Linked DNA regions of Homo sapiens: regions 1, 2, 3, 5, 6 and 7 are each linked to region 4. The links are contacts of gene promoters, found by promoter capture Hi-C in blood cells and fetal thymus (Javierre and others, 2016). All regions are on one chromosome and are shown on one strand. The core of a region is centred on a gene start or on the middle of the fragment in contact, and the rest is flanking DNA. Distances in the headings are between cores, read along the strand shown.

What was found. Contacts are between HindIII fragments. The CHiCAGO score rates a contact against its expected background, and 5 or more counts as called.
Region 1: a contact is called between a fragment that was not itself captured here and the fragment with the promoter of BMP4 in region 4, in 1 of 17 cell types (endothelial precursors). The highest score is 5.4, in endothelial precursors.
Region 2: a contact is called between a fragment that was not itself captured here and the fragment with the promoter of BMP4 in region 4, in 1 of 17 cell types (endothelial precursors). The highest score is 6.0, in endothelial precursors.
Region 3: a contact is called between a fragment that was not itself captured here and the fragment with the promoter of BMP4 in region 4, in 1 of 17 cell types (endothelial precursors). The highest score is 13.7, in endothelial precursors.
Region 5: a fragment that was not itself captured here is called in contact with the fragment with the promoter of BMP4 in region 4 in 1 of 17 cell types (endothelial precursors); the score reaches 15.4 in endothelial precursors.
Region 6: a fragment that was not itself captured here is called in contact with the fragment with the promoter of BMP4 in region 4 in 1 of 17 cell types (endothelial precursors); the score reaches 5.6 in endothelial precursors.
Region 7: a fragment that was not itself captured here is called in contact with the fragment with the promoter of BMP4 in region 4 in 1 of 17 cell types (endothelial precursors); the score reaches 6.0 in endothelial precursors.

The regions. Positions count from the first base shown.
Region 1 is chr14:53,663,075-53,667,270 of GRCh38, forward strand. All of the region lies in intron 2 of LOC105370504 (a long non-coding RNA gene), which reads left to right. Among named protein-coding and RNA genes, the nearest start is that of LINC02331, 190 kb to the right of the region's middle. The HindIII fragment of the contact is 197 bases long and covers 2,075-2,271 here.
Region 2 is chr14:53,528,301-53,532,553 of GRCh38, forward strand. The region is part of intron 2 of LOC105370504 (a long non-coding RNA gene); the gene reads left to right. Among named protein-coding and RNA genes, the nearest start is that of LINC02331, 320 kb to the right of the region's middle. The HindIII fragment of the contact is 3,188 bases long and covers 1-3,007 here.
Region 3 is chr14:53,543,978-53,547,969 of GRCh38, forward strand. All of the region lies in intron 2 of LOC105370504 (a long non-coding RNA gene), which reads left to right. Among named protein-coding and RNA genes, the nearest start is that of LINC02331, 300 kb to the right of the region's middle. The HindIII fragment of the contact is 7,693 bases long and covers 1-3,992 here.
Region 4 is chr14:53,955,032-53,959,332 of GRCh38, forward strand. It overlaps BMP4 (bone morphogenetic protein 4), which reads right to left and starts at 1,794. Exons shown (of 4, transcript NM_001202.6): 1 at 1,519-1,794. It overlaps LOC124903317, which reads left to right. Exons shown (of 2, transcript XM_047432035.1): 1 at 1-1,297. The coding sequence starts at 870. RefSeq lists promoters at 1-692, 1,620-3,738, 1,620-2,962 and silencers at 918-1,027, 1,677-1,756. The HindIII fragment of the contact is 12,206 bases long and covers 1-4,301 here.
Region 5 is chr14:54,329,629-54,333,798 of GRCh38, forward strand. No RefSeq gene overlaps it. Among named protein-coding and RNA genes, the nearest start is that of CDKN3, 65 kb to the right of the region's middle. The HindIII fragment of the contact is 1,315 bases long and covers 1,577-2,891 here.
Region 6 is chr14:54,345,861-54,349,843 of GRCh38, forward strand. No RefSeq gene overlaps it. Among named protein-coding and RNA genes, the nearest start is that of CDKN3, 49 kb to the right of the region's middle. The HindIII fragment of the contact is 853 bases long and covers 2,102-2,954 here.
Region 7 is chr14:54,314,360-54,318,421 of GRCh38, forward strand. No RefSeq gene overlaps it. Among named protein-coding and RNA genes, the nearest start is that of CDKN3, 81 kb to the right of the region's middle. The HindIII fragment of the contact is 5,014 bases long and covers 1-3,840 here.

The DNA of each region.
Region 1 (4,196 bases), core at 923-3,422, 290 kb before region 4:
TGAAATTGTGTTCTAGGCTCTATGTTTGTCAATGAACCTTGTGGTAGAGCTTGATGTCTGTCTTGGTGCACAACTTTGTTTTCTTATCACGATGTTGTCTTACCTCTTTTTTGTTGGTGTTTAAATCAAAAGTCAAATTTCACATAAAACTTGGAAGCCAATTCAATGTCATTTTATATTAAATATTCAGGTTTTGTTCTAAGAACTGTGTGGGGCACACAAACTTCCTCCACTTTTTTCCTCCAGGGCCTGAAAACCCTGAGATGGGGGTGTAGATCAGGAACACAGACAGTGAGAAATTCAGGGAGAGGGTAAAAGGGGACTTCTGTCTCTCCCTTAGTGACTTCTCATACCTGGAATATTGGGATGAGGCTGCTCAACAGAAAGTGATCGGGGTGATTCACATAAGCAAAAATTTTTAAGGGCAGGATTAACATTTGGGAATCACTTATCTATGGTATTCGGGTAACCGTTCTAAGCACAAAGCATTGTTAAGTACACAGGATTTAGACACAGGCCATCCTGGATTTGAATCTTGGTTCTGCTAATTCTTACCTGTGTACCATTTGGAAAGTCATTAAACCTCTCACATCCTCCATTTGTGCATCTCTAAAATGGGGATACAGTTATCCATCTCACAGCATCAACGTGAAGATTAAATGAAATAATATATGTAGAATGCTTAGTACAGCACCTGGCACATAGTAAGTGCTAAATACATGGAAATGATTTCCATGTTTTTGTTTGGTTTTTCTGCATTCACTGATTGCTGCCTGCTCTGTCCTTAGATCCACAAGGGGGCCCTAAAAGTGGAGCTCCTGGGAGAGAAAAGCAGGAGCCCTGTGACAGCAGGCAAGCAGGGAACAAGAGGAGTAGGACAGCTTGCAATTGTCAGTCTGGAGGTGGAACTCGGCAGCTGGGGAAATGGGAAGCAGGCACGGCCAGCCACTTCCAGGACAGAGGCCCTTGCCTCAGGACATCCATTCTTTATTTTTCTTTGGTTGGCTTCTTCTATTTATTTGTTTATTTTCAATTTACTTCATTTTCTTACATTTAAAAGGTGATATTCTCTAATAGTAAAACAGCTTTTAAAAACACAGAGATCACTTAAGGGCATACTACTAAGTGAAACAAGTCCATCTAAAAAGGCTACGTACTGTATGATTTCAAGTATATGGTATTCTGAAAGAGGCAAAACTGTGGACAGATGATAAAGGGATCAGTGTTTGTCAGGATTGGGGGTGGAAAGAAAGATTAGGTAGAGCACAGGGGATTTTTAGAGCAGTAAAGTTGCTCAGTATGATACTAGAAGGGTGAATACATGTCTTCATACATTTGTCAAAATCCATAAAGTGTACACCACCGAGAGTAAACTCTAATGTAAACTATGGACTTTGGTTGATAATGAAGTGTCATTTTTGGTTGATTGCTGGTAACAAATATACCACTCTGCTGGGGGATGTTGATGGTGTGGAAGTCTGCATGTGTGGTGGGAGGGGTTACATAGAAACTCTTTATACTTTTTGATCAATTTTGCTATGAATTGATTGCTATGAATTGCTATGAATTAATTGCTACTAAAACTTCTGTGATAAACAAAATCTACTAATTTTTAAAGATGAAACAAACTACCCATGATCCCACCACTTATTAAAAATAGGTGAATTCTTATTCTCCTTTAATGGCCCTTGTGCACACACACATAGATTTTCATATAGCTGTGATTACTGAAGGATAACCACTTGACCTTCTGCATTATAATTAACCACAGAATAGTATGCTCATTCCTTACAAGAAGCCAAAAGTTTTAATTGCTTAAGCATTTCTGCACTTAAACTAATGTATTTGTGAGATGTATTAGATATCAAACCTTAATGGAGGAGCAGAGGGTAGAAAGCTAACATTTCTGGAGCACTAACAAGGTACCAGGCCCTATGCCAGGTGCTTTACACATTTTATTTTATTTCATCCTTGTAACAGCTATATGAGGTAGGTGTTATTATCTCCATTTTGTGGCGAAGCAAACTGTAATTTAAAAATAATTATCAGATTAACCAAAGATCATCCTTGGGCAAGCTTAGATGATATTTACCAAAGTGTGTTTTGTGAAACCCTGTTTTCACAGGAGGTTAAAAAGCAGATAAATAGCTAATGGATGGATGGGTGCATGCACAGATAGCTATAGATGGATAGCCATATATGTGTATAGTTATAGGTACATATATCTCGTTCTTCTAAAAGTTTTGAGAAGATTTAGGTAAAAATTGAAGAAGCTTCTTTCTATAGGACATCTTAGGGCTTTTATATGCTAATGTCTACTGTGAATTTCAATCATTTTCCACTTTCTGGAGTAAGAATATTGCAGGAGTAGTTCCATCAAACACGATTTGAGAAACCCTAACCCATAACATTATTTATAATTTATTCAGTAGGTTAATTAGTTAATTTTAAGAATTTTCAGACTACATTCTGTATCAGTGTCCATAGAAAATTCCAAGTTTTATCTCATGATTTATTTTATCAAATGAATGATACACTTTAAGGTTAAGCCATAAAATGATGTAGAAGCATAGAATTATAGGCCTGGAAGAGATAATAAGAATTGAAATAGGACACTTCCCAGGCTTCAGAAAGGACAACACCTAAGCCATCATGGACAAACAGGTATCTAACTTATTGTAAAAGCCCCCCAGGGGAGGAAATTCCCTAATCTCCCTGTAACCTATTCCACATGCCCAGCTTTTCTGAGAAAATGATGAGTTCCTTGAAGCTCTTCTACCGTAGTGTGCAAGTGCTGAGTACTTCATTATTATATTATATGCAGATGTCTAGATTTTTAAAAGGGTGCTGGTGAGAGTAGAATAAAGATAGATCTATCTATCTAGCATATGTCTATTTATCTATTTACCTATCTATCTAATCTCTATTATCTATCTAATATCTATCTATCTATCTATCCATTTATCTGTCTATCTTCTATTTGTCTATCTACCTATCCAGAGAGTGAAGAAATTTAAAATGTTGACTCAGAATCATCTTTGACTCCTTCTTCTACCTATTTCCACAGTTTCAATTAATTATCTCATCTTGTAACTCTCCTCTCCTCTGAAGCATCTCTTGATTCAGGCTTCACCATTTTTTCTCACCACCCATGGTCGAAGACCTCCTTCTTGTTAGCTTGGATCTCTCAACTACCTCTTGAGAAATTTCCCTATCTCTACACTCTTTTCTACTTTGCCCCCACAGGGCTAACACCACCATCCTTTCTTTTCTTTTTTCTTTTTTTGTATTTGTTTTGTTTTGTTTTTAGAGACAGGGTCTCTCTATATTGCCCAGGCTGATCTCGAACTCTTGGGCCCAATTGATCCTCCTGTCTTTGCCTCCCAAGGTGCTAGGGTGACAGGTGTGAGCCACCATGCCCAGTCATCTTCATCTTAAAAGTGCAGCTCTATCATGTGCCTCCCATTTCTAACAGACCCCCTTGCCAACAGGATAAATGTGACCCCTGTAGACTGCTCTATTTAGCTGCTTGTGATTTGGTCCCAATTCCCCTTCCCAGTCTCATCTTCAATTATTCTTCACTGCACATGTAACAAACACATCACTAATACTGAATATTCTTTTCTGAATTTTCATATTTTCATGCCTTTTTTCATCCCTTCTGCATGAAATTCCTTTTCCTCCTTTCTTTGTTGTGTTCTTGTTCATGTTGAAGTCCTAGCTCCTCTGGAAATCTGCATAGGTCTGTCTAGGCCAAACTAATTGTTTTCCCACTTTTTATATTATCCAAAACTTTTACATATTTCTCACTCACATCATTTAGAATGCTATGTTGCAAAATGTGGCAGATTTCAAACAATGGGTCATCTGACTTTGATACATTCCATGAAGAAAGACAGCGGGAAGAGGCTGAGTGGAGCAAGTGAAGGGGAGACCAGAATGACTGATCAGCAAAGAAAATGTCATGGAGGTCACAGGAAAAGCAGATGGTGACCACGAGTGTGATGGTGATTGTGAGAGATGAAAAAAAAAAACATGAAGACACGTCGCCTTAAGAATGAGAGGGCTCTATCTGTAATCCAGGAAAGATGGACAGGAAAGGACTGAGGGCAGGCAGAAGTTCCTCCTGTCCTCTGGAACCCAGGGGATAGAACACTGGAAAGACAGCAGCCACACAAGCAAGAAACACCCAATGG
Region 2 (4,253 bases), core at 164-2,663, 430 kb before region 4:
GGAGGCTGGAAGTTACTGTTCACTGGGCACTACTGACCAAGGCCCTTGCGTAATGCAGCCACTTGTTATGCTGAAGAGGATTGTTTAGAAGGAAAATGGGCTGGTTTTTCTTGCTTCACATATCCTTACTGGAAGGTCATGACCGATCTTTCTTACTGCCCACATTTTTATTTATACACCATAAGGAATAATTTCCATCTCACTCTCCCCACTCCTTTGCCAGAACATATAGAAATGTCTGTGTTCAAAAGGCTCTTGTTTTCTTGGCTGAATATCAAGATTTTTTCCAGATTGTCAACTCCTTAAGAGGGGAGAAGCATAAAATCCAGCTGTAGAAACCAAGAAGTGACCTAACATGATCCAGGTGTTTCCAGTTTTCTTAGGAAAGAAGGCGAGTATGTATGTCATGTCTGATGGGCCATGTCTAGAGGATACTGCCCGATCACATTAGGTTGCTGATCACAGTTGTGATGGTGGGTTGTGGGTGAGTCCACTGTGTGTAACAGCTATATCTGATTTATCAAAATTGGTTTTGTAGTGGTATTCTGAAAGTTCGTGACCTTATTCAATGCACATAAAAAAGGATTTAAAAGCAGTAAAATTGTAAAGACAACATGGTGGTATGTAAATGCAGGGAAAAGGCAGAGGAGAAACGGGCTTTAACTTTAGTTCTGCCACTTGCCAGCCATGTTTCTGTGGATAAGTCTTCAATCTCTTTGATTCTCATGTTAAAAATCCATAAAATGGATAAAATGTCTGCCCTTAATGCCCCATTATAAAATTAAAGTATTGTATTGGGGACAGATTTATTTATACAAATAACTTGGACAAAGCTATGTAGATAAATGTACATTTAGTGGTCTGCCAGCTTACCTGTTAAGTCAGTAGTAACATTCCAAGCCACCATCCATCAACTGGATATGGTCTACTATATTTTTAGATTCCATTTTTTAATGAATTAAAATTGAACAAGTCTGGCAGAATAAACTAATTTCCCAGAATGAATACCATGCCACCTGCCAAAATCTTCCTCATCCACCCTGTCACCTACTTCTCAAAGCATTCTTAGGTCTTCTAATCTGTAATGACTCCATTAACTCCTGTGCCTTCCTAGCATGGGTCATGTCTGTGTCAGCTCTTACGGGAGGTTAGCGACTATGGATGATGGTCATCCGGGAGCATGTCTGTCTTCCCCTGCAGAGAGGAGCCTAGTCTTAGTTGGCTTTGGGCCTGCCCACCTTACCTTGTAGAGTGCCATGCATGTAGGTACACAGAAATGCTTTTTAAATTGAATTACTATTTTTCTTCAGTAGACTATACACGGGAGGGAAAAAAAATGGTGGTGGCTTCTGAAGGGCATCTGGTGTTAATAAATGATGTCACAGAAAAAAATCAGAGCAAAGATCAGAGAGCTGGACGGCCGTACATGCTTTGCCACTGCATGGCTCTATGTGCCTTGGATGAGTCACTAAACTCTCCAAGCCTTTGTTCCCTTCTCTTTGTAATGAGAGAATGGGATGAGTTTGACATTATGCTTCTTTACAGCACTAAGATTCTAACATCTAAGGTAAGGTGCTGAGAACAACTTCAGGTAAATCAAGGAATGTGTTAAATTTTTAAAAAATTTTTATTTCTTTATTATAGAGGTAAAATGTACATATAAAATTTACCATCTTTACCATTTTTAAGTGTACAATTCAGTAGTAAAAATACATTTATATTCTTTTGTTTTTTTCTTTTCAGCCCCCCAACCCCCTTTCTGGCCTCTAGATGTTTTAAAATGGGAACCACATAAGTGGGTGATTCCAGGGCAAAAGAAGTCTATTCTATTTTGAGTGGTAAGGATTATTTTACATAACTATGGGATTCAGAATAAGGTATTTATCAAGTGTGTCTGTGGATGGTGTTTCAAATATGATTTAAATTGGCCAGGTGCAGTGGCTCACACCTGTAATCCCAGCACTTTGGGAGGCTGAGGCAGGCAGGTCACTTGACCCCAGGAGTTTGAGACCAGCCTTGCCAACATGGAGAAACCCCATCTCTACAAAAATACAAAAATTAGCTGTGTGTGGTGGCATGCTCCTGTAGTCCTGGCTACTCCGGGGGCTGAGGCAGGAGGATCCCTTGAATCCAGTAGGTGGAGGTTGGAGTGAGCCAAGACCATACCACTGTACTCCAGCCTGGGCGACAGAGTGAGACTCTGTCTCAAAAGAAAAAAAGGGTTAAGTTAAAAAAAACCTAGCATAAAAGGAGTAGTCCAAGATTATCTTCGCTTGGCCCATTGTACAGCTTACAAAATATGTCATATTAAAAATAAATACAACTTAGAGTTTTAATCAAGTCTGAATTTTGGTGGTAATTATTTTTGAAATCTCATCACACTTTTTTTATAAGACATTTTCATTTAAGAACAGTTTGGAGTTATCCCAGAAACTTGAATTATCCTTTAAAAGAGTATTACGTGAAATGTATTTTTATTAGTGGAGAAGAATAGAACTCTTTCACACGCGTTGGGTTAGTTTCATTTCCAAACTACAGACCCTTACCTTGTGGAGTCAAAGCAGAGATGGTAGGTACTTAATTGTACTCTTTGAATAGTGCGCACTGTACCAAATTATTTTATTGCTGGGTCCATTCTAATTTATTGAGACCACTGTAACATGATCTTGTTGGGTCATACATAAACTGTTCACTTCTCTCTATACTGATTTTACCAAATCTGCTATATACATCTAGCAATCCAGTCAATTTTGCAAACTATTTTATCAGGATTGACTTTCCATCTATCTTCTTGGGGACCAAGAAAGAAACTCAATAAATCTTTACCAGATGAAATCAACCCTTAAATGGGTGAACTATTTCCATTGTCCAGTTGTCCCAGTAAGTTTAAAGCAGAGAGTGTTTTTGACAGCTTTGTTAATTTAGCTCTTTTTTTTCTTGCTGGCAATTCAAGTATAATTGAATTCTAGTGTTGAGCTTTAAATATGTACTTGAGACTTGAAAAGGAAGCTTGATGAGGCGTGTGCTGCAGCATAACCTCTCAATTATTCACACATTTATGGGACTGTAATCACCAAGGCCTCTCATTGTAAACATTATGAACACTTTTATAACCAGACATTGATATGAGCTAATAGGCAGTGAATTACAACTCAAATGATGAAATTACAAACAGTAATCAGATGGTCAGGGTCATCAATCCTAATTAACACCATCATTTTTCAGTTCTAAAATCTCTGATTCTGTATCAAGTCACTTTTTAGTGTTACCTGAGTAATTTCCAAAACTTCAACTGGTAAAGGCTGACATGTTTGAGAATGATTCTAGAGCCTCAGAACTACTCACTGCCTACAATGAGGACAAGAAGTACTGCCATTTTTGTGTCTTGCTTTTAGATTGAAATAACTTATAAGTTATCTGTCTGTCATTTAGCATGATATAATAGCTGTGTTTAGTAAAGCATCCCAGATTGGCTTCTGCTAGTATAATACTTAACAGGATTGGAAGAAAATCCTGCATAAATGTGATTAGTGACCCTTACCTCCCTTTGTCCTTTTCTCCATTCCTGCCTACTATCAATAATTAATTGAGTCATTCAAAAAATATTGATTGCATCATAACCTTGTGTCAAACACTGTACTAGGCCCTGGGGAAATAATCCAGGCATGCTATCTCACCACCATTGTAAAGCTTTAGAATTGTAGTTCCAATGCTATCAAGGAAGATTTCAGACGTTATTGAATGAATTTATACTGAACACAATCTTTAAAGTCATGAAAAAAACAGCCACAATGGATTGACATATATTCTGTTAGAGTCAGTTGGGTAACCCACTTTCTTCTTGTTCTATGGTGGTTTGGGAGCAGAATTGGGAACAACAAGATTTCTGGTCATTTTTGTTCCTTTGTTTGAGATGTGTGGGGAGATGGGTGAGAAGATAATAGGGACTAGGAATTGCTTAAAACAACATTTTGAAAGAAAACTATGAACGGACTTGCTGTGCAGTTTCCCTATTTGCTCAAAGCTCTTCAGATAAGCAGTCACAAAAGTATCTATTTTCAGATTAAATGAACAAGAGAGATGTGCATGTAAGTTCTGCTATGGGTTGAAAATTGTGCATAGTTTATTATACATCTAGTTAATGTATGCATAATCATGGGTAACAAATGATCAGCAAGAACACAGCTGGGTTTAAACTTTCTTTTCTAAATCCCTTCTCACTAAGGGTTGTTGAAAACCCCAGAGTAGCTAAT
Region 3 (3,992 bases), core at 1,470-3,969, 410 kb before region 4:
CCAGAAGCTGACCCAAAACCTGTATTTTGGTGTTACCTCCTGCCATTCCGCAAATTTACTCCATCATCCAGACAATTCACACAGCTTGCTCTTCCTTTGTTCAGCGTCATTCCCTCAGCTTTGAGCATGCTCATTAACTTTATCCGAGCCAACTCAACCTTTGGAGACTAGATAAAATGTACCACCTCCCCAAAGCCTTCTGCCCCATCCCAGGTCTAAGAAAGACTCAAGCCTCCCAACTCCTGGGGCACTTTGGATGATTCCAATGGTAGTGACACAATCTGCTTTGCATAGGAATTACTTGTTTGTCTGACTTATAACCACAAGGCAAGTTTCTTGACACTGAGGACCATTTCTCATTTGTGTTTGTATCTCTACAAAATTGAGTACAGATTTCTCAGCCAACATTTGTTGAGAGATTAAAATTTGAAATTATTTTATTTTATTGGTTTCTTTTTAGATTGTTCACTCAGCATATAGAAATGGTACTGATTTTAGTACATTGGTTTTGAATGCTGCAACTTTACTAACATTATCAGTTCTAACAGCTTTTTGGTGGAGTCTTTAGGTTTCTCTTAATGTAAATGTTGGGAATAAAATGATCAGATTTATTCCTTAAACATAAGGAGTCCTGTAGAGAACATGAACTGTTGTCTTGTTTTGCTCCCTTTAATCACTGACTCTTCATTTGTTTACTCATGCTTTTAACAAGCATTCGATTGACTTTTAAGGACGGCACTTAGGGGCTAAAGGGCTTGACAATAAGTGGGAAAATACTGCAATTAAAATTAAGATGATAAAACACACTCTAAATAACATGAATATCGTTCATAATATATTAACAAAGAAGTGAAGCAGGTCCCATGCTGTACCATGCTGTGGCTTTTGCTAATTGCTTCTAGCGTTACTCTGTACCTTGGTGGCTGTTGGAACTCCTTTCTCTTGCATGCCCACTGTGGTGGATGCTGTGCTGTACTGCTCAGGTCTCCCTTCAGGAGTAAAGGACTTATCATCCTGGATGCTGAGAGTGTCTTAAGCAGGCACCCTCAGTTGTGAGTCCTCTTAAGCTATTGTATCTCTTCCCAGAATGACCCCCATCTGATGATTGATGCTGGAATATAAAGGCCTCATTTCTCTTACCACAATTCAGGACAAATCTTAAGCATTAACTCATCTTCAGAACTCCCTGTAGGGTTCTAAGGCTTCCATTGGGACTGCATTGCAGCTCAACTTCTCCTTCTACTCAATCTTGCTTCCTTCCCTCCTCTTCTCTTCTGCAGTTGTTTACTCTCAATAGTACTCCTTAATAATCTCTTGCATGCTACTCTGTGTCTCAGAGTCCACTTCCCCCAGCTACCACCTTGGCTCCCTGCTCCACCCCATGTTACTGTTGCTTTCAATATGAATAGTCATTCTACCAGATTCAGGCCTGCTGAATTCCCTCTAGCCAGCCAAGATGTAACCTTCCCCTAAACTACAGATGGGGGCCTGCCAGATGTTCTAGGTTAGGGAGGCATGAAATGAGCAACCAAGCAGGAATCAGAAACTCAGACCAGCAGCAGACAAGGAAAATACCAGGTGATATCACTTATAAAGGGGAACCCTTGGGATCAAGTAAGGAGTGAAGATTAGGAAAAGGAGGTGGGGAGCCAGATTGTTACTAAAAACATGTGAAGGAAAATACAGCAACAATATTGGTAAGCAATGAGCTTTTATAGGTATGAGGGACCTAATAAGAAGATGATTTCTAAGGTGGTGGTTGTATCCCTTTGCCATGATGGAACAGAACTTGCAATATTAATCAGGATGAATTAATGACAGAAGAAATGATTGGCAAGAGCGGTGATGACCTCTGGGGTGAAGATGTTAAATCAGCAGCCCCTTGTGATTTTTGCTTAGAAGCCAGAAAAGTGTTTCCCCTTCAGGGCATCTAAACTCTTATGGTAAAGAGTAACTGTTGTATGAATGGCCTATAGGTCTTAGGCTGAATCGTGTGAAATTGCCAATATTCAACTGTATTTGACCTCCAAAAATGATAACTTCACGTCATTCCATTTAATAATTTTTATTTATTTATTGTCTGTCTTCCCCAACTAGAATGCAGATATGATTTTGTTCAAAGCTGTGTCACAGTATCCATTACAGTGTCTAGCAAAGTGGGTACTCACAAATTTTCGATGAATTAAATAAATAAATTATGTAGTTCCTAAATATTTCTTGGCCATAATTTACTGTAATCCTTGGGACTTCTTCAATTATAAGTAGTATGACTTCAATTTATATTAGTTAAGCAAAGAAGATAATGTTTTGGCATACACAACTAGAAATTCTAAGGGTACTGGCTTCGGGCACAGCTAGATCCAGGGGCTTGAATAATGTCATAATGATTTGGTGTCTTGCCATTGTTTGACTGATTTTTTTTTTTCTGAGTTAACAGTATCCTCAGGCAGGTTCTCTCAATTTGCCAAGTGTCTCCAGGCTTACAGTCATTAGCTCAGCAAACCCCAGAGAAAATAAAAGTGGCTCTTTCCCAGTAGTTCAAATAGAAACTCCTAACTTTGACTCTCACAGAATCTACTTTGGCAATGTCTGAGGAGCCAAGGCGGGAGGTCAGATTCACCTCAGTCAATTGGACTGAGACTGGGAGAGATGGTGATTCTCTGAAAGAGAATCTTAGTGCTGTTCCCAAAATAATAATTACAATAATAGCTGACAATTAAACACTTATTTCCCAGACACTATTCAAAAGGCAATACCCTCAGAAACCCTTTAAGGGAAGCACTATTATTATGTTTATTTTATACATGAGTACACTGAAGTATACAGAGGCTAAGTAATTTGCTAAAATTCACATAGCTGGGAAGATAGAGCTAGAATGGAAACATTCACAGTCCCACTGCCCGCCCATTCCCTTAACCACTACACTCTGCTACCTGAAAAGGAGTTTGGGGGTAAAGAAAAACATGGATGTTCACTGTACTTAGCTCATTTATTTACAGAGCCAATGGTCTGGTAGCATCTAACTCATGATGGCAAATGGAGAGTTACTGGTTCATCTGTGGTCTGGGCATTGCCAGGGTGGGTTTTCTCTGGCAACCCAGAAGTTGCTTCCTGGCTGGTGAGAAAGTGATTTCTCACAATCATAGCTTCTTGTTTTATGGTTTCCTCCCACATCTCTCTCACATGATGACTTCTATCAAGTCAATTTGTTCTATTAAAAAATAATTTTTAGAGCATCTTCAGCATACTCAAAGGAGAACACTCGGTGGATGTTTAAAAATGTTGTGAAATCATAATCTGAGTTATTATATTTAGGTAGCTTCTAGCTTTGACATTCCAACAGTTTGGGGATATATTTGTGTATTGGATGCATGAGTTGATTCCCTGATAAATGCCACATCTGTCTTTTCTCCCTCCAGTTCCTTACCCATCTCCTTGAGGATAATTTATCAAAGTTTACTTCTAACAGGTATGGAGTGGTGACGGCTCAGGTGTTCTATTTTCCCTTCACAATGGTGGATGGTGCTTTGTTGAAGAACGCTCTGGGGAGCTAGAGAAAACAGGCCTGAAAATCCGTCCCCTTGCCTGGGGTAGATGAGGCTTGTCTTTGGGATAGAATGTCTCATCAGGTTTATTTCCTGTAAAATGGGAGTGAAATCAGATGAAGGATTTTGGTAAGGATTCTTCCCAGTAGGGCTCCTGCTTGGCTGATTGACGTACTCACAGTTGTTGGAGTGGTTGTAATCTCTGCTTCTCTCTGCACATTTGCTCTTGTCTCCTCTCTGCAGGCTAAGATCCTCTGCAGCTTCTTAGTTTCTGTTTTCTTATGACTTCAGCTCTGTCTTGCCCTGGGCTGCCTCTAGGCCAGGCTTTCCATGACCTGATGGCTCAGGTGCTTATCATGACCAAGTGATTCATTTTATTTAATTCAAAGTCACTAAGTCTGTTACTGGTCCATTTCAGGTTATAGATGAGTTCAATGTTAGATCAAT
Region 4 (4,301 bases), core at 544-3,043:
GCGGAGGCCGCGGGCGCCCCTGCGCGACCGTCCGCGCCCGGCAAGAGCCGCGCGGCTTTCGCCTTTGCTGGTCCCGCGCCACCGCTGGGGCGGGCTGCGAAAGGGTTGGGAAGAGCAAAGGGTTTTTTTGTTTTGTTTTGAGACGCAGAAGCCCTTTAAAAAGCCCGGCGAGGAGAGGTCCAGAAGTAGAGAAAGCAGACGGAGGCAAGCTGTGCCCGCGGGGCAAAGGGACAGTAGAAGGGGCGGGCGCCCGGGTTCCCCGGAAAACCCTCGGCCCCAAGGAATCTCCTGGGGCGGGAGAGCGCGGTTCTAAAACCGAGAGGATAGGAAGGGGAAGGGGGAGTTGTGTTTCAATTTCGGATTCACCAGGATTCATCTCTAGTCACATTTTTCTTCTCAAATTTTTAAATCGAAAAGATAAAAGCCAAAAGAACTTTCATCCCCAGAGCTTTTTATTGGGGGAAAGGAATGTAACTCGGGGTGGTTGTCCTTCACTTCCCTACTCGAATCTTCTCCTAATGCCGAAATGTGTTTACAGGTAGCCTCAGTTTACCAAGTATGTATCTTTTGGGGGTTTAACCTCTCACAAAGCCTTCAACTCACAAACCGCGATCCTTGGAAACCATCCTCCAAAGCAGTGCTTGGAGGCCTCTAAGGCCCCCGGACCAACTCCCGCTGGAAGAAGCCTGCAGGGACTCGGGAATCACGGGAACCTTTCCCGTCGGTTCCGGGCCTGGAGGGCCAGGAAGAGCCGCGCGTCCGCCTTTCGTCCCGCCAGGAACTCCCCATAGGACACGACACCGCAGGAACAAGCGTCCTGGGAGCCCCTGGGATCTTGGCTGTCGTCTCTAGGGACCCTACACCGTGAAATGATAGAGGCGAGGTTCCTTGGGTTCCGCAAGTCGACGAAAATAGCTCGTGGAGAAGGCGCGTCCTGCAACTGCAGTTCGCAAGCTCTCAGGGCGCCCCGCCAGCTGGGGGCCAGATTGGGTGACACTCCCCTCGACGCAGCCTCCGGAGCGGCGCGCACTCTCCAGAGGCCAGCAGGACTGCGCTCTCTACCGCAGAACCTGCTCCAGCTAGGTGTTCTCTCCCCATCTCGCCGTCGCTCTGCCCCCTCACTCTCTCTGGACCTCAGAGCCGGTTCTCTCCTTCCTCCTCCCGCGCTTTCCGTCCGGGGATCGCAACCTCCAGCCCGTGGGCAACGCGTTCAGCCCAAGACCCCACAGTTTTTCCCAACGACCCCCCTACCAAGGGCTTCTCTTGTTTCTGCTCTCCTGCCCCGCACTTCCCAAAGGTGAGAATCTCCCAGGGACTGCTGGACAGAGAAGGCCTGGGCAGGGGCAGTAGCCGATATTTAAAGGTCTTTCAGCGCCAGCATCCCCACCTCCAGCACCACTATTGGAAAATAATTAGGCCACCTTTTGCCTCGGTCACAGCCTGTGACCAGCTTCTTCCCCCCAAGGAGGCTCCTAGACCCCCTCTGCCTGTCTCCCCTCACCAGGTAGCCTTGCTCACCATAGGTCCCTGCAGTAGCGGGCTCGCCAGCAGCAGCTCCTGGGGACCTCTGAACGGTTGCAGTGAACCTGGGCGAGGGCCGGGGACTGTGGCGCTGCAGGCTCGAGATAGCTTGGACGGGAATCCCATCGGGGAGACAAGCTAGATACTCAGCCGGAGCAGCAGCGGCGTCTCAGGCTCGCGTCCCTCAGCTCGGATGCCACACTCACCTAGCTTCCGGGCCGGGCTCCGCGCTCCTTCCCTCCCTCCCTCCTCCTCTGCCTTCTCGCATCTTCCTTCCTCCTCTTTCCCTCCCTCGCTTTCTTTCTTTCCTTCCTCCTCCTCTTCCCCGGCGGCCCCTCCCTCCTTCCCTCCTCCCTCGCTCGCCTCCCTTTCTGGGGATGGGAGCCCCGCCCACATCCTCCCCTCCAGCCGCCCGACCTCGCCTAGCAGGCCCGGGTCCCGGAAGCCCAGGCAGCGCCCGAGTCCGCAGCTGCCGTCGGAGCTGGGACGCCGCTGCCTCCAGCTCTGGGAAGCGGCTGGGGCTCACCTGGGGACCACGTGCGGAGGTACTAGAAAGCATGCACCGACTAGTCGCCGTACCTTCCAAAAATACCCATGGGAGTCTGGGCTTCCCTGAGTTTAGTGTAACTGCTGCCCAAACTGATGATTAAAACACTGAGTAATCACCATTTACCCTGAGTAATTAGAGATAATGAAACACCTCTAAAATCAGGTTATGGAGAAAGGAGCTGTTGGATCGGTTTAAAAGGTGGCCTTCCATAAACTGTTAAAAGATTTCCAAACGTTGAGAAACAGGCTGTGTGCAGAACTGTGTGCCAGAGAGAGATACCTCTTGGGCTGTTAAAAGGTGAATTTCCTTCCAAAACATTCTTAAAGTGCGTTTTGTAGAACACCTTGGTGATGACCCTGAGGTAGACCCCAGTAAATGAGCTCACTTCCCTCCTCCCCCCAAGGCCTAAAGACAGAGGTGGCCTGCAGACAGGCTGGGGCCACGTTTTTTACAGTTAGAAAAATCTGTTTCTAGCTCAGAAGCCGTCTTAAGAACCGACACAGCAGTTATTTTTGTTGGTGTTATGGTTGTTGTTGATTTTTTTGTTCATTTTTGGTGTACCTAAGAGTCCTGACACTCTGTCTTTCCAAGGAGATAACCACAGAAGCAGTAACCTTTTAGGCCACAGGGAGACAAGAAAAGATGCCCCTTGGTCTGTTTTTAAAGGAAGAGGGGAGATGAGGAATTGGCCCTTTCATATAAAAACATTTTAGTAATCATATTAGCAGGGAGGTGGAATGTGGTGGCTTTTAAACCTTCCCAAACAGGAACTAATTTCACACACTGCCTCTGATGGAGCTGTGAGGGAGCTATCAGCCTCATCTCTCTGTTTTACAAACAAGGAAAGGCAGGACTACCAGGTTAAAGGGACTTGCCCAGATCTCTGAAGTAAATCACAGCCTCTGCTCCAGAGCTAATGCTTCAGGGAGGGGTTGAGGCTCATAGCCTGAGCTCCAGGTAGCCAGAGGAGTGCTGGAAGACTGAGCATTTCCTGTCCTGGATTTCTTTCCCTGGGACAGACATGACACTTTACTGTCTCTGCAAAGCATTTAGGTCTTTACTTAAACAGATATTGGCCCTGGGTGGCTCATCTATAAAAACTTTACGTTTATACACCTTCGATATTTAAAAAACAAGAACTACTTCCTGTGTGGAACACAGATTACAAAGGGTGGGAAATATCTGAGATCAGAGAAGCAACTGTCAGAGCAAGGCCAAGACATCCTGCCATCTTTTCCATCTATTAGGCCTAGGTCTTTTGGCCTAATGCACCAAACAACAGAAACAAGCTGTATGGCTTTGGGCAAGTCTTTTCATTCCTATGAGTCTCAGTTTTCTCATCTGCAGAATGAAAGGATTGGGCCAGATCATCTGCATGCTCCCTTTATATTTGAAAATGATTTGATTATTTAATTGTAATTTTAGCCAAAGTCCGTCTTCCTTCATTTTAAGTCACTCCTGAGTTCACTTTCTCTAAGAACCACTGATTAAAACAGGGCAGGGCAATAACACCACCCCAAAAGGAGGACAAAATATACCTGTAGCTTCCAAATAGTCAAAATCACAATTAATTATTAAAAATAATAACAGAAAATTAAAACTCCATTAAATAGTTACCTAATGTTTCTCCTGCAGCATCAGGCATTGTGCTCCTTTAGCATGGTACCTGAAGTCAGGACAGATTAAATGCTCACTGAGCCCCTAAATCAATCACTGTTGTTTTAATCATTAACGAAATGTGGTTCTTAATATTTAAACTCAGAAACAACAGTGATATGCTGGACTTAAAGGCAGGACTTTATTTTACTTTAAAGCACCAATGTCATTTCGGGGTTTTTTTAATTCCAAAGGTTTTTGAATGACAGCTATTGTCTCATTTTGCTGCAGCCCAGACACTAAAGTGGCCACTGATTGGCCCATCCATGAGTCTGTGACACTCACAGTCCAGGAGTTTCCAATTAAGCTACCCGACATACCATGTTTAGACCCCTGATATGAATCTTCAGATATATGACGAGAGAACTCAGCTTTAGTTCTCTTGGGACAGCTTTATTTCTCTCCCCACATTTTAGATGGGCGCAAGCCATCTGTTATCAGCTGCTTTTACCCACTCCTCCTTTTCCCCCCTTACTCATGCCAAAGAACAAATTACTTGTTGGTTAGAGAGCTAAATCAACCACAGCCTAGTGATCAGAGTTCGTGAGAAGAATCAGTTTAGTTATTTTCTGTA
Region 5 (4,170 bases), core at 984-3,483, 380 kb after region 4:
TTCTCACTTAGCAGCAATGTTCGCCTTCCACATGCGGACACCTGAACACTACCCCCCTGTCAAGAACACCACGCTTACACTGGCTGAAAACAAGCTTCAGAACACCTTGGAATACAGTTTAGCTTCCTTTGAATCCCCAGCATGTGCTTTTGCATATCTCTGTCCTCCAAGGGCAGAATCAGAAGTGATGAAGCAAGAGTTCAAAAATGTTCAGCTGCATAGTATTCCCAACGAGGCTCACTCACACAGTTACCTGCACAGCATCCCCAAGGAGGCTCACTCACACGGTTACCTGCACAGCATCCCCAAGGAGGCTCACTCTCACCGTTACCTGCACAGCATCCCCAGCGAGGCTCACTCTCACGGTTACCTGGGGTACATTTTTAAACTCTGTTTTCACTGCTTATCATTATGACCACAAGTTCCAGTGTTTCAGGGTAGGAATTGGTACCATAAATTGAAATCTTAGAAACTCACAAATGCACAGAAAATGTTCAAAGTTGCCATCTTCTCCAGAAAGGTTATACTTCCAAGAAACCAAAAATAGAAAGAGAAGCATGAAAGTGTCTTGTCTTGAGCCTAATTGAAGTAAGTCTACATTTGGAGGAAAAGTAAGTAACGCCATATAAAATCCTCATTGCACAAAAATGATCTCCCTGTTAATATATGGAAATGAGCCTCGCAGATCCAGAGTTCAAAACACAGATTGTCGGCCTAGTGCAGTGGCTCACGCCTGTAATCCCAGCACTTTGGAAGGCCAAGGTGGGTGGATCTTTTGAGCCCAGGAGTTCGAGAACATGGTAAAACCCTGTCTCTACAGAAAATTTTAAAAATTAGTCAGATGTGGTGGTGCCTGTGCTCCCAGCTACTTGGGAGGCTGAGGTGGGAGGATTACTTGAGCCCAGGAGGTCAAGGCTGCAGTGAGCCATGATCACACCATTGCACTCCAGCCTGGGTCACAGAGTGAGACCCTGTCTCAAAAAAAAAAAAAACAAAAAACAAAAAACACACACACACACATCATCTCTAACCCTAGTTATACAACTAACATGTTGCTCAATGGCACTGACTACAGAAGATGCCCTGTTGAGAAGGAGGAAGACTACTTCCCAGTAAGATTGTTTCACATTAAATGTAACGTATTTCATGTCATATGTAAGCACAATTTGGGGGGGTTCCACATTTGCACAAACTGCATTATTTAAATAGTGCCTCTTAGCATCAGCTCATCAGCTCCTGCAGTGTGTGCCAGAATTTAGCAGCACAATGTGATTGTATCACAAACATCCTGGCCCTCCTCACTTTACCTCTGAAACCACTTTTGGTGACTGACCTGCTTTCTTGGAGGCCTTATCAGCCTCTTCTCCCCTTCCGATTGTAGATCTGATCTCCTGCCTGACATTCCTGTGTTTAGACTGTCTGGCCAACGGCACTTCCCTTCGCTGTTTAACAAATAGGTTTCCGCAGCCTGTGGAATTTTTTGTTTGTTTGTTTGTTTTCCACACAAGGCTGAGTGTACCACTTTCTGGGAAGTTTCTAGTTATTTCAGGGAATTCCTAGTTTTGTCAGGGAGTTAAGCTTCCCGTTTTTCTAGGTGAGTGTCCCAAAGTTAACATGTGAGATCAGCTGAATCACAAAAACAATTCTGGCCTTCAAGAAAATTTTGTTTGCCTTTATGTTTGATAAGAGTGAACAGGAAAGAAAATAAAATTCCTCCAAATCCATGCCATTTCTCATGTTCTTGCCCCAACTTCAATCCATCCAAAGTAATGCCAATTCATCACCATTAGGTGTTCCTAATGTACTCTTTTCACTAAAAAAGATTAGAACTTCACTCCTACTTTGGTACCTGTAACTAAGTATAACATAGTAATCCATCTTCCTATTGTAATGTTTTTCTATTTTATTCTTTTCCTTTGGGCTTTCCTCTTACACATAGAATTTAAACACACGAACACATATTCCCGTGCACCTCCGAAATCCAACTTCACTTTATCATCTTCTTCCAAGAAATGGAACACTGTATCCCATAAACAGGACGGGTAAGGGCATATCAGAGCCAACCTTTTCTTTGGCTGCCTTTCAAAAAGTTGTTTAAAACAAGATATGCTCTTGAACTGGAAAAAGGCATTACACAGGATAACCTTAGAAAGCAGCCACTTGCTTTGCCCAACTAATATCACCACACAACCCCATAACTTTGTGTGGAGTGTTGTCTTCAATTACAGGCCAGAAGCACACCAGCAAACGGCTAAATTAAGATGAAATTAATTTCAATGTGAGAAGACCATATTGAAATGTCATGCTGAATATGACTATGGGGAAACACTTGACAAGCGTCTGATCATTATGAAAAGAATAATGCAAAACTCTTAATTCTATAAGATGCATGATTCCAGCTATTGTCAGTTATCTCACCAACTGATTTCCAACAGCAGTATCTACCCTGGGCTTTGCTGGGTTTAATCAATGAATTTTCCAGAGTCACCCACACCATCCCTTCATTCCCCCAGAATAATGACCATATTTTGTGAAATAAATATGGTCATTTCTTTCACAAATTTCAATTTTGATGCAATTGAAACATGTTTTTGTTTCTAGGCAGGGCTAACTAGAACCTTAGCCACTAACACCGTAACACCAGATTTACCTAGCTAAACCAACCAAATCAGATGCCATCCCCTCAACAAGCAAATGCAACAGCCTTTATATTAACAACCTGTTGAAACAGACATGTAAGCAAGCCCAGATGCAAGTCAATAAGCAAAAATATAGACCAGGACTCAATAGAGTTGGTCCACAGATACATAATATCTAATAAAAAGTGACAGCACTTATTAGACAAAAAGAACACATACTTCATTTGCAGTTTACTCCTTCTGTGCTAAGAAAGCTTGTAAAGAATTTTGTGAGCTGAAGTATTTTAAGCTAACTGCAAGGCTGCCAAATGCAGTTTTTGCAGAATTCCTCTACTGAGAGTGTGGTGTCAATGTTACCGTGGAATCCAGAAGGATGGATTCTGTTAACTACTCCTCCAGGTACTCCCACCATCATCAGATGTTAAGATAATGATCAGCACATCTTGTCCTCCAAAGCTTGAGCTCCACCGAAACCAGCACGGAATTTCTATTTCAAGCATGTTCAAATAGAGTCACCAGAAGGGGTTCCCTCGTGGTGGGAAGTAACTGCGGTTTGAGTCTATAGTAAAACTTGACTTGGAAGCATCTCCTTGAGTAAAAGTGGCCCTTCCCGTTACTGTTGCTTCATGCCCTGTTACATCTTTCCTAATTCAGTCATCACCACGGACCCACCCTCCGACCAAAACAAAACCTAGATGGCCTAGGTTCCCATCTGCAATGTGGAGCAATGGTGATCCCTCCCAACTTTCAGGAAGAGCAAAGAGCAGCAGGCTGCCTGTTCCATGACAGCAATTATTTCAATAATAAAGATCCCTATTTTACTTTTACGTGCTTAATCCATGAAACTCAAAATGCACAATGTGCTTGGGATAAATAAATTCTTCCATCATCTTTCGGAGACATCGTATTATCAGTCCTTACAACTGTATGTTCGTATGGAAAAAAAGTGATTTACTTCACGACATAGAATGAATCCATGGGAAAAAAAATAATAATAACTTTAAATCCTTTTACCGTTCTCACCTGTCCTACTTTCAAAGTGTAGAGTTGAATTTAATGGGCAAGCATTTATTCCAATGTTAGCCTCTCCCTATGAGTTTTCTTTAAAAATACCTAACCTAATCAAGCTTTTATCACAATGAAAGAAATACTCAAAGCATGATTTATACACAGAATCAAACCCTAACTCTAAAACTAAAAATTTGTCAAGTAGCTGAAAATTAAATTAAGAATTTTTATTTTTTAAAAAAGACCTGCAAAATTGGTTACCCTAACCTCCCCCCATCCCCCGGCCCTTAGGAAATTCAGTGCCCAATGCTTCCCTATAAATAGTTGTCAATAAACACAACTGCTGCAAATGTATTCAGTAAATGTTAAGGTCAAAGGCCTTCACTGTTTATTGCCTTGTAAACTCAAAGACAAGTGAATTTATTGCTTGAATGAGTTTCAGGGTATTGGCCTTCATAAAAGTTCTGAATCCCAGGTACAAAATGCTCCATCAACTCACACCAAAGCTATTCTGCACAAAACT
Region 6 (3,983 bases), core at 1,278-3,777, 390 kb after region 4:
GGCTCTTCCCAGGTTATCTAGCCTACTGGTCCACCCTGTAAATTTGGGACTTCCAGCTTCTGTAATCACATAAGCCAATTCTTCAAAAATCAATCTCTTTAAATATATATACACATATATATACACACATATATATACATATATATGAATATATATACATATATACACATATATACATATATACACACACATATACATATATACACATATATACATATATACACATATATATACATATATATACACATATATATATATACATATATATACACATATATATATAAAACATATCATGTATTAGTTATATTTCTCCAGAGAACTCTGACTAATACACATGGCTAAGCTGTTGAGATGTAGTTCTCCTGGGAGTCAACCCTCCTGCAGGAAACCAAGTTCTTCCAAGGGCCATCTGCTCTGGAAGCATGAGCTTCCATCTCATGCCTCTTCCTTTCATCCATGCGCAAAGACTTATACAGCCCCCTGGCATTCCCAGGACACCTTGCTGGTCACTTCCCAAACTAAAGGGCAGAAAAGAATCCCATATAACAAAAACTGTTGCTCAGCTGCTATACTAGGAACTCAAGGAAACATTTCTTTGTCTATGATGTCATCGTAAACAATCTTACCAGGAGCAATAATATTCATATGCCGCATGCAAACATCACACCGTCACTTCGTGCTAACACTTGACTGAAGTCTGAGAGGCTGAAGAAAGAGCAGAATAGTTAAGAGCATGAGCCCTGGAGGTCTAACTGCTGGGACTCCAGTCTCCACTCTGCCACAAACTAGCTGAGTAAAATGTGCCAATTCCCTTAACCTCAATTCTCTCATCTTTAAAATGGGATGCAATAATTATACCTATTTCACAGGACTGTAATAAAACCAAGTGGAAAAAATACAAGTGAAGCACATATCCCTGTGCCTGACATACGGCCCATGCTCTGTAAAGGTTACTGGTATTTATTGCTGCAGCAAGAAGCCCAGGCCTTAAAGAGTCTTCTACAAATGCACGCAGTACTCTGAAGAAGGTGATTAAATCAGTTATGACTCTGTGGGTTGCAAGTGAAAAGCAGAAAATCCTTCAAAAGATATAGAGCCCTCAAGAACTCTTGGAGGGCATGCTACCACAGACGAGTCTCTTCCACAGTAGCCCCAGAAGTGGTTGCACCACCACATAGATTGGATCCTATGGTGAAAGGCTGGGCTCACTTTAAGGCTGGGCAGACTGAATTGTGAAGAAACTCTGCGACTTATTCATAGATTGTGAGAATAAATGGTAAACAAGTAAATGAGCAAATACATCCATGCCAGGAAGGAAACAAACAGGGTGCTTTAACATTTAAAAAGAAGTGGGTGTGTCATACCCAGCACAGGCAATTCCATACAGACAAGACGGTAGATGAGTGGATGCCAGAGGCTGGGAGGAATGCGAGGTGGGCCGTGACTTCTTCATGGTATGAGGTTTCTTTTGGGGACAATGGAAATGTTCTGAAGTTAGATAGTGGTGATGGCCGTATAATATTGTGAATATACCGAAAACCATTGAATCGTACACTTTTAAATGGTGAATGTGGTGTTTTGTGAAATCTTATGTGAATTATATCACAATTAAATTTTTAATTAAAAAAGAAAAGCTGGCTGGGGCCGGGCCTATTTTAGATGAGGTAGTCAAAAAAGTTCCCTCCAAGGGGTTTCTATGACCAGAGGACTGAGAAATGGGAAGGAGCCAGCCTTTGGAAGATGCACGGAAGAGCTCACTGTGCAGATGGAAGAGCAAATGCAGATGCCACAGAGTGTGCCCCGCTTGGCAAGGTCCATGTGCTGTCCCAGATTCGGCCCCTGGGAAGGAAGAGAGAAAGAGAGCTTGAAGTGTAGGAAGAAGCTATATCCTAGAAGGCCTTGGTAGGGCACAGTAAGAAGTGGGGAGTTCATGCTAAATGAAATTGAAACCCACAGAAGGCTTTTCCGCAAAGGAGTGCCCACCCCACTTGCCATTTTTGGAAGATCGCTCCCAGCTCCCAGCACGCAAAGCACCCATTACCAAGTGGCAGGACCAACACAAGGTATGAGACATTGATGAGATTCATTCTCATTAGTTGGAAGCTTCTGCACTTTCAACAAAACTGTAACCAGGGGCTACGAATTAGATGATGAGCTTATTCTTAAGAAGACATGTTATAAAAGGTAATATGAAACAATATGGATTTCTTGTCTATTCCAAAAGGCACCTTCTCTCTTTCCCCATAAAATACTTGGTAATAAAAGGATACTCTGTCACCTCCCAGCTTCCTGGAGTGACAATGGCAATGCTGTCATTATTAAGTCAAGAGCGCCCTCTACAGTTATGAGTCTAGATTACAGCTTACTATTAGCCTCGAACAATGTCTACTTTTGTGAAAAATTACCATCCCCTCAGCTCATGCCATCCATGATAAGCTAGTCCCACCAACTCTTTCCTGAAAACTGAAGGAAAATATTCAAAGGAAGTGACATTGGCAGCTTTCTTGGATGACTGAAATGTCAACACAAATGTGTCGGCTCTTTGGAGTAACAGTCTCCATAGGCCAAAAGGAGGATGGTCGGGTGTATGTGTGTGTGTACAATATACATCTATCTACTCACTGCTAATCAATATTTGATCTCATTATGTAACTGGAAAAAGAGAACATGTGTTTGATCACTTTGTGATTATCAAAATACTTGATATCAAGTCGGTGAAAAGTACTTCAAAAATGTAGAAGTTTATTATCTTGCCATAAAATAATAGAACAAAGAGGCAAGGGACTGGCTTCCATTGGCCCAGTGACAGCAGCAGGAGGCTAGGAGAAGCTCAACCAACAGCTGAGCAGTAGTATGGACGGGTTGAAAAAGCAATTGATATTTGGGAGGAAGGCTTTGACCAAAAAAGTGGGGAGATGGATGGAACCATGAAAATCGCATGAAAAAGTGCGAGAAGCTTTTTTAAAAATTCCCCAGGAGAGGGATTTTAAAAAGAATACCCAGAGAGAGGCGCCTGTGAGCAGCTGGAGAGGACAGGGAGGACTATTTGTCTAGGAAATTAGAGCTGTTAGGCAGAGCTGAACTGCCTAGAGAATGGGAAATCATAATTTGTGAAACGCTTTTATTGCACCCCGCCATGGTGGATTCCTTGTCCCAAATATTCTTACGCAAAATTTATTCGGGAAGGAGAAAGAAAGGGCATGCGAGTTCAGAACCTGTCTCACGCCTCTAAAACTTCCAGGCCACCTTCAGTACAAAGAATGGGGGGAATGTCCGGGCGAGCCACGGGAGGCGTTGGGGAGAGGGGAAAACGGATTCCTTCCTGCCGTTCTGCTTCCACTGATTAATACAGCCATTAAAAAATGAAATCTGTTCCTTAGACAAAATATGGTGAAACATTCCTGCGCGCTCCATCCTTGAAACAGATTTCAGTATTGGCCTGTCTTCTCAGTGTTTGTTTTGGTTCCTTCAGCCCACGCTGGAGTCCATGGGTTTTTTCCTTCACTCATCATCTCGCCTCCTGCTGCTTCAGCCGAGAATGAAGTAATAATTCAGCAAGCTGTTCAGGACTTCCCATCAGCCCAACTGCACCGCGCCGTGTTTTGAGGGCTCAGGCATCCTTGAACTCCACGGCAGAGCAAGCCGCGGGAAGGAACTCACTCATGTTGGCTCCCTTGCCTCAATTAAGGCAGTTTAGGAAGCAAAGTGAGAGAAGCACTTTAAAAAGCACAAGAATATCTCCTCGTGGGTCCTCACTTGCATGTTCTTACGAAGCCGGATTGTTCGTAGCCTACTCTGCAATTTCAGAGTGGTGAGTGGCTCCAAAGCAGCTTACAAGGAAACATAACTGTCACAGAGGCTAAGAGATTGCTTAAAAATAAATTACTGATTCTCTTTTCCTGAGAGCAACCTGCTGTGACCTTTGGAAGGCTTCTTTTGGGTCTTCAATTTTGCATCTGCCTGAGCTAAAAGGGATTGCCAGA
Region 7 (4,062 bases), core at 84-2,583, 360 kb after region 4:
ACCCTAAGAACTGTACGCCAGACTGCAATGAAATCAAACTTACTCTAGTGACTTCTTTAAACACGTGCTGATGCTTTTTCAGAGCTGCAGCTTAAGAACCTTCCCGCTTCTGCTCACCTGAGAAACACTGGCTGCCCCTGTTACAGGGAGGCTTGCAACCCTGCAGCCTTGCTCTCAATGTTTCCTGCACACCCATGTTCAAGTGCCCTAATCAAGAAGTCCAGGCCAATAGCAGGCTATTCAGTGATCTCCCTTGTCCCCTCCAGTCCCTGCCACAAGGTCCTCTGCAGCTTTTCCACTTGCGTGTTGCTTAAACAAGTGAAGAGGGCAAGAGAAAGAAAGAGTTTGCTGGCTTCCTTGCCAACCAGGCCCTCCCTTCTAAGACCACACGGCCCCAGTTTCTCTGTTTCCTCTTATGTTTAATTTTCTTTGGCCCAGGCTTTCCTCAATGGTTTTCTTTTCGCATTTTATCACCATAAATTAATTAAAATGTTTCTGGCACTGAGTTCACATCTGATCATCTTGGCAGGATCCCCTTACACAGATGGCGAGTAGATAAAGGGCAATCCAAGCATCCAAGAACAAGAACAGCCCACATAGGGAGCCGGGCGAGAGACTTCCAGAGGAGCAGAGGCTGATTTCAAGAATAGCCACTAGACTAAATGCAATGGTTGGATTGCGTGCTCGGGGGTGGGGAGGAAGGAAAAGACTCTCTTGGAACTTTTTGTATTCCTCCACTGTTTCCCCAAACCCCGCAAAAGAGAGCTTGTTAGCAATTAGGAGAAGAACGAGAAGAAGCTGCTCTACCTCTACTCCCTCTTTACCCTTCAAATTCGGGAAGTTCGGGCAGGCTACACAGGTGTTGGAAGATGGAGGAGGCAAAATGTGGCTGGTAGGAATGGGAAGAAGCAATGATCGATATTGACTGAGAACCTGGTATGGGGTAGACACTATGCTACACCCTAGGAATATAATAAAGAGCAAGGCAGACATGGTCCTTGCCCTCATGGGGTGTCTAATCCAGCAACAGAGACAGATATTAAATACCAAATATCTTGAAGTGGAAAAAAAGAGACCATACACTGAGAATGTGAAATACAGTCTTGTCACTAATGAGAAGGGCACTGCAGAGACAGACAAGAGTACTCACCGCCCAGAGACTGGGACCACCACACCCCAGAGGCTGGCTGCCTCGAAATTACTCCAAAGAGCCCTGAGCACCACTTAGAGAAAGGCTTTGGGGTCCAGACACTCAGGTGCAAAAGAGGAGACCTTGTGATACTCAGTAAAGGAAGGGAAGCAGACCCATGGTCGTACACAAGTAAACTTCCAGAAGGCTATTTGCAAGGAGAGCTAAAAACCTATTGAAACTTTAACTTTTCCCAAAACTACTGACATATAATACTGTCTTATTATAGAGGGCTGCTCTCTTCATCAGAATTAGTAAGCAAAATAAACAGTATGTGAAAAGCACCATGAACAAAATGAACAAGACGCTGTGCTGAAGAATAAGGGAGGTTGTGATCACTTTAGGTAGGGCAATCCAGAGAGATCTCCCTGAGTGATGACATTTAAACTGAAAGATGGAAGGATCCCAGGACCTCACATTTAAAATGTACCATCAGAACGAATGCAATTCAACCAGCCGAAATCAGCCACAGGCCACGAGCAAAGCCCCGCTCTGGGAGTCCAGGGAGAATAAACAAAAACACTGAGTTGCTGTCCCCCCAGAGCTTATGGTCTCCTGGAGCCGTGGAGGCCTGGAAGCCTGGGATCTGGTCACAGTTTCTGGTGGCCTGATGATGTGTTCACTGAAAATCAGTGAGGTCTGTCGTTTCCTGGAGCAAAGCGTGAACATCTTTCCAGCTGATGCCACCCTCCATCAGGGAGGAAGGAAATGCAGTTCACACCATTTGCTTCTATCTTTGGTCTCCATACGTGCCAAGCCTAGCAGTGAACAACTGCTCTCCTGAGACCTTTTTGTAAGGGGAAGAAAACCTCCCCGGAGGCCTCGTGGTCCCTGTCTGCCTTCACTTCTGTCATTCCTTCCCTCTCAGCATCACTGGGTCACTTTTGCATTTACACACATGCATCATGCCATCTCGGCATGTCCCTGTGCATCTCCTGTCATTTTGTGCCCAGGTTTTGTGTCCAGGCTCCACTCTGCCTGGATTCTAAGCAGCTCTGACAAGACTGTAAGCCGCTTCAGAATGAGAATTGAGTTGTGTACTTACTTTTTTTCTTGGCATTTAGTAGGTGCTTGATTAACACAATGAATTGAATTTAAAAGTTACCATGAATATGTAACTCATTTCCAAATTGTTAAAGCATCAAAAACTTTTTTACCATCCCTGAATTTTATCTTACAGATTTACTTTAGAAATCCTGAAAGAAGTGATAGATGCAGGAGGCAGATAAGGGGGAGGGTCCCCAGAGAATCTCCGATCCACTTGCGCACCGGGAGAACAAGGTGGAGCCACGGGAAGTCACACCTTGTGCAAGGGCGAGGGGCCTGGCCTCTTCGGCTCATGCGTGGTGACCTGGAATCCATCTGAGGTGGGGGCCTGTTAGCAGGACCCCCTCTCACTTTGCTGAGAGTTTTTTTTTTTTCCCAATAAATTCCGCGCTACTCACCCTTTCAATGTGTCCGCATTCCTAATGTTTCCTGGTTGTATGACAAAACCCAGTTTTAGCTGAACTAAGGAGCAAAAATTCTGCAACAGAAGGAAGAAGGAGGAAAAGCACTGCCCGTAAGTCCCCACTGCGCTTTACTAGTATTATATTTTCTCTATTATTCTAATGTGATACACAAAATCCATCCTAAAACAGTGACAAATATATATATAATACACACATACACACACTAATTTATTTGACAAGCCTTTCTGTATAAATTTTTTTCAAGAGTGGGATGATTTTTTTCATGATGGGATACGAGAACAAAAAATATTTTAAAAATTTAATGTCACCAAGCATTCCTCGTTTTGCTGTCCTTTGTTTAAGTTCCTAGAGTCCTGTTCCCCACTCTCCCAGCATTGCTAAACTCAGAGAAATACAAAGCAGATTAAACCATGAAACAATACATTAGAGAATTCTGAGGCCCTGAAAACCTCAAAGATACAGGGTCAAGGGAGTGCTGTTATTTTTGTATTCATTTACATTTGTCTCCAATTTCGAAACAATTCATGTTGTTCTCATCTTGTCCCTTGCACATCAACTTGGTCTCTCCCAGCACAGCTACAGCAACAAAGCAGAGCTGAAGAGAGTTCTTTCTGAGAGACTCGGGCCTGAGCAAAAGTCCAGTGTGGGAGCTGCTTGTCCAATGACTGTGGCCTGGGAGCAACTGAAACCTTCGGGGAAAACGGACTTCCACCACCTCTGATGGTCTGGGCTTTAGAGTTGACCCTTAGAAAACTACATGGAGAGCTCTGTCCTTCGAAAAGGACATTTTTGCAGACACATGTAACTCTGTGCATCTTATAGCATCGGGATGTTGAGTTGTGAGCTCTTCTTGACCCTCAGTCTCACACACTCTATTTGGAGTTTAGCCACCTTCTTTCCTATAGTTCACATTTTCTATATTTAAAGGTTTAGGAAGTGAGGCAAGAGAGACATGAAAATAATCTAGCTTAAAATAGATAATTTGAATAAAAAAGGTTTTCAGATATGCTTTTCATGTAAGTATCACAAGCATCTGCCAGAGTAAGCAATTAGTATTCTCTTTTGAAAATTAAAAAAGGAAACAGAAAAATCCATTATCTTTTTTTTTATTTTTCCAAACTGCTTCAGAAAGAAGAGTCCATTATCTTGCCTTTAGTTCATCGGACTCTTTAAAGGTAAAGCTTTGAACCTAAGTTGAACCTTCCAACCCCGGCATACAGACATCACGCTAACACATGGCCTGCTGCTTGGACTATATACACATGGACAAAAAATCCAATTTTTAAAGGGGCAGGAAAGCTGACGCAGAAGCAGAAGGGACTCGTCTACAGCCTGCAGCCTTGTTTCAGAACCCGTGAGACACTCTGGATCCACATCCAGGCCTCTCAATTCTATTTCCCA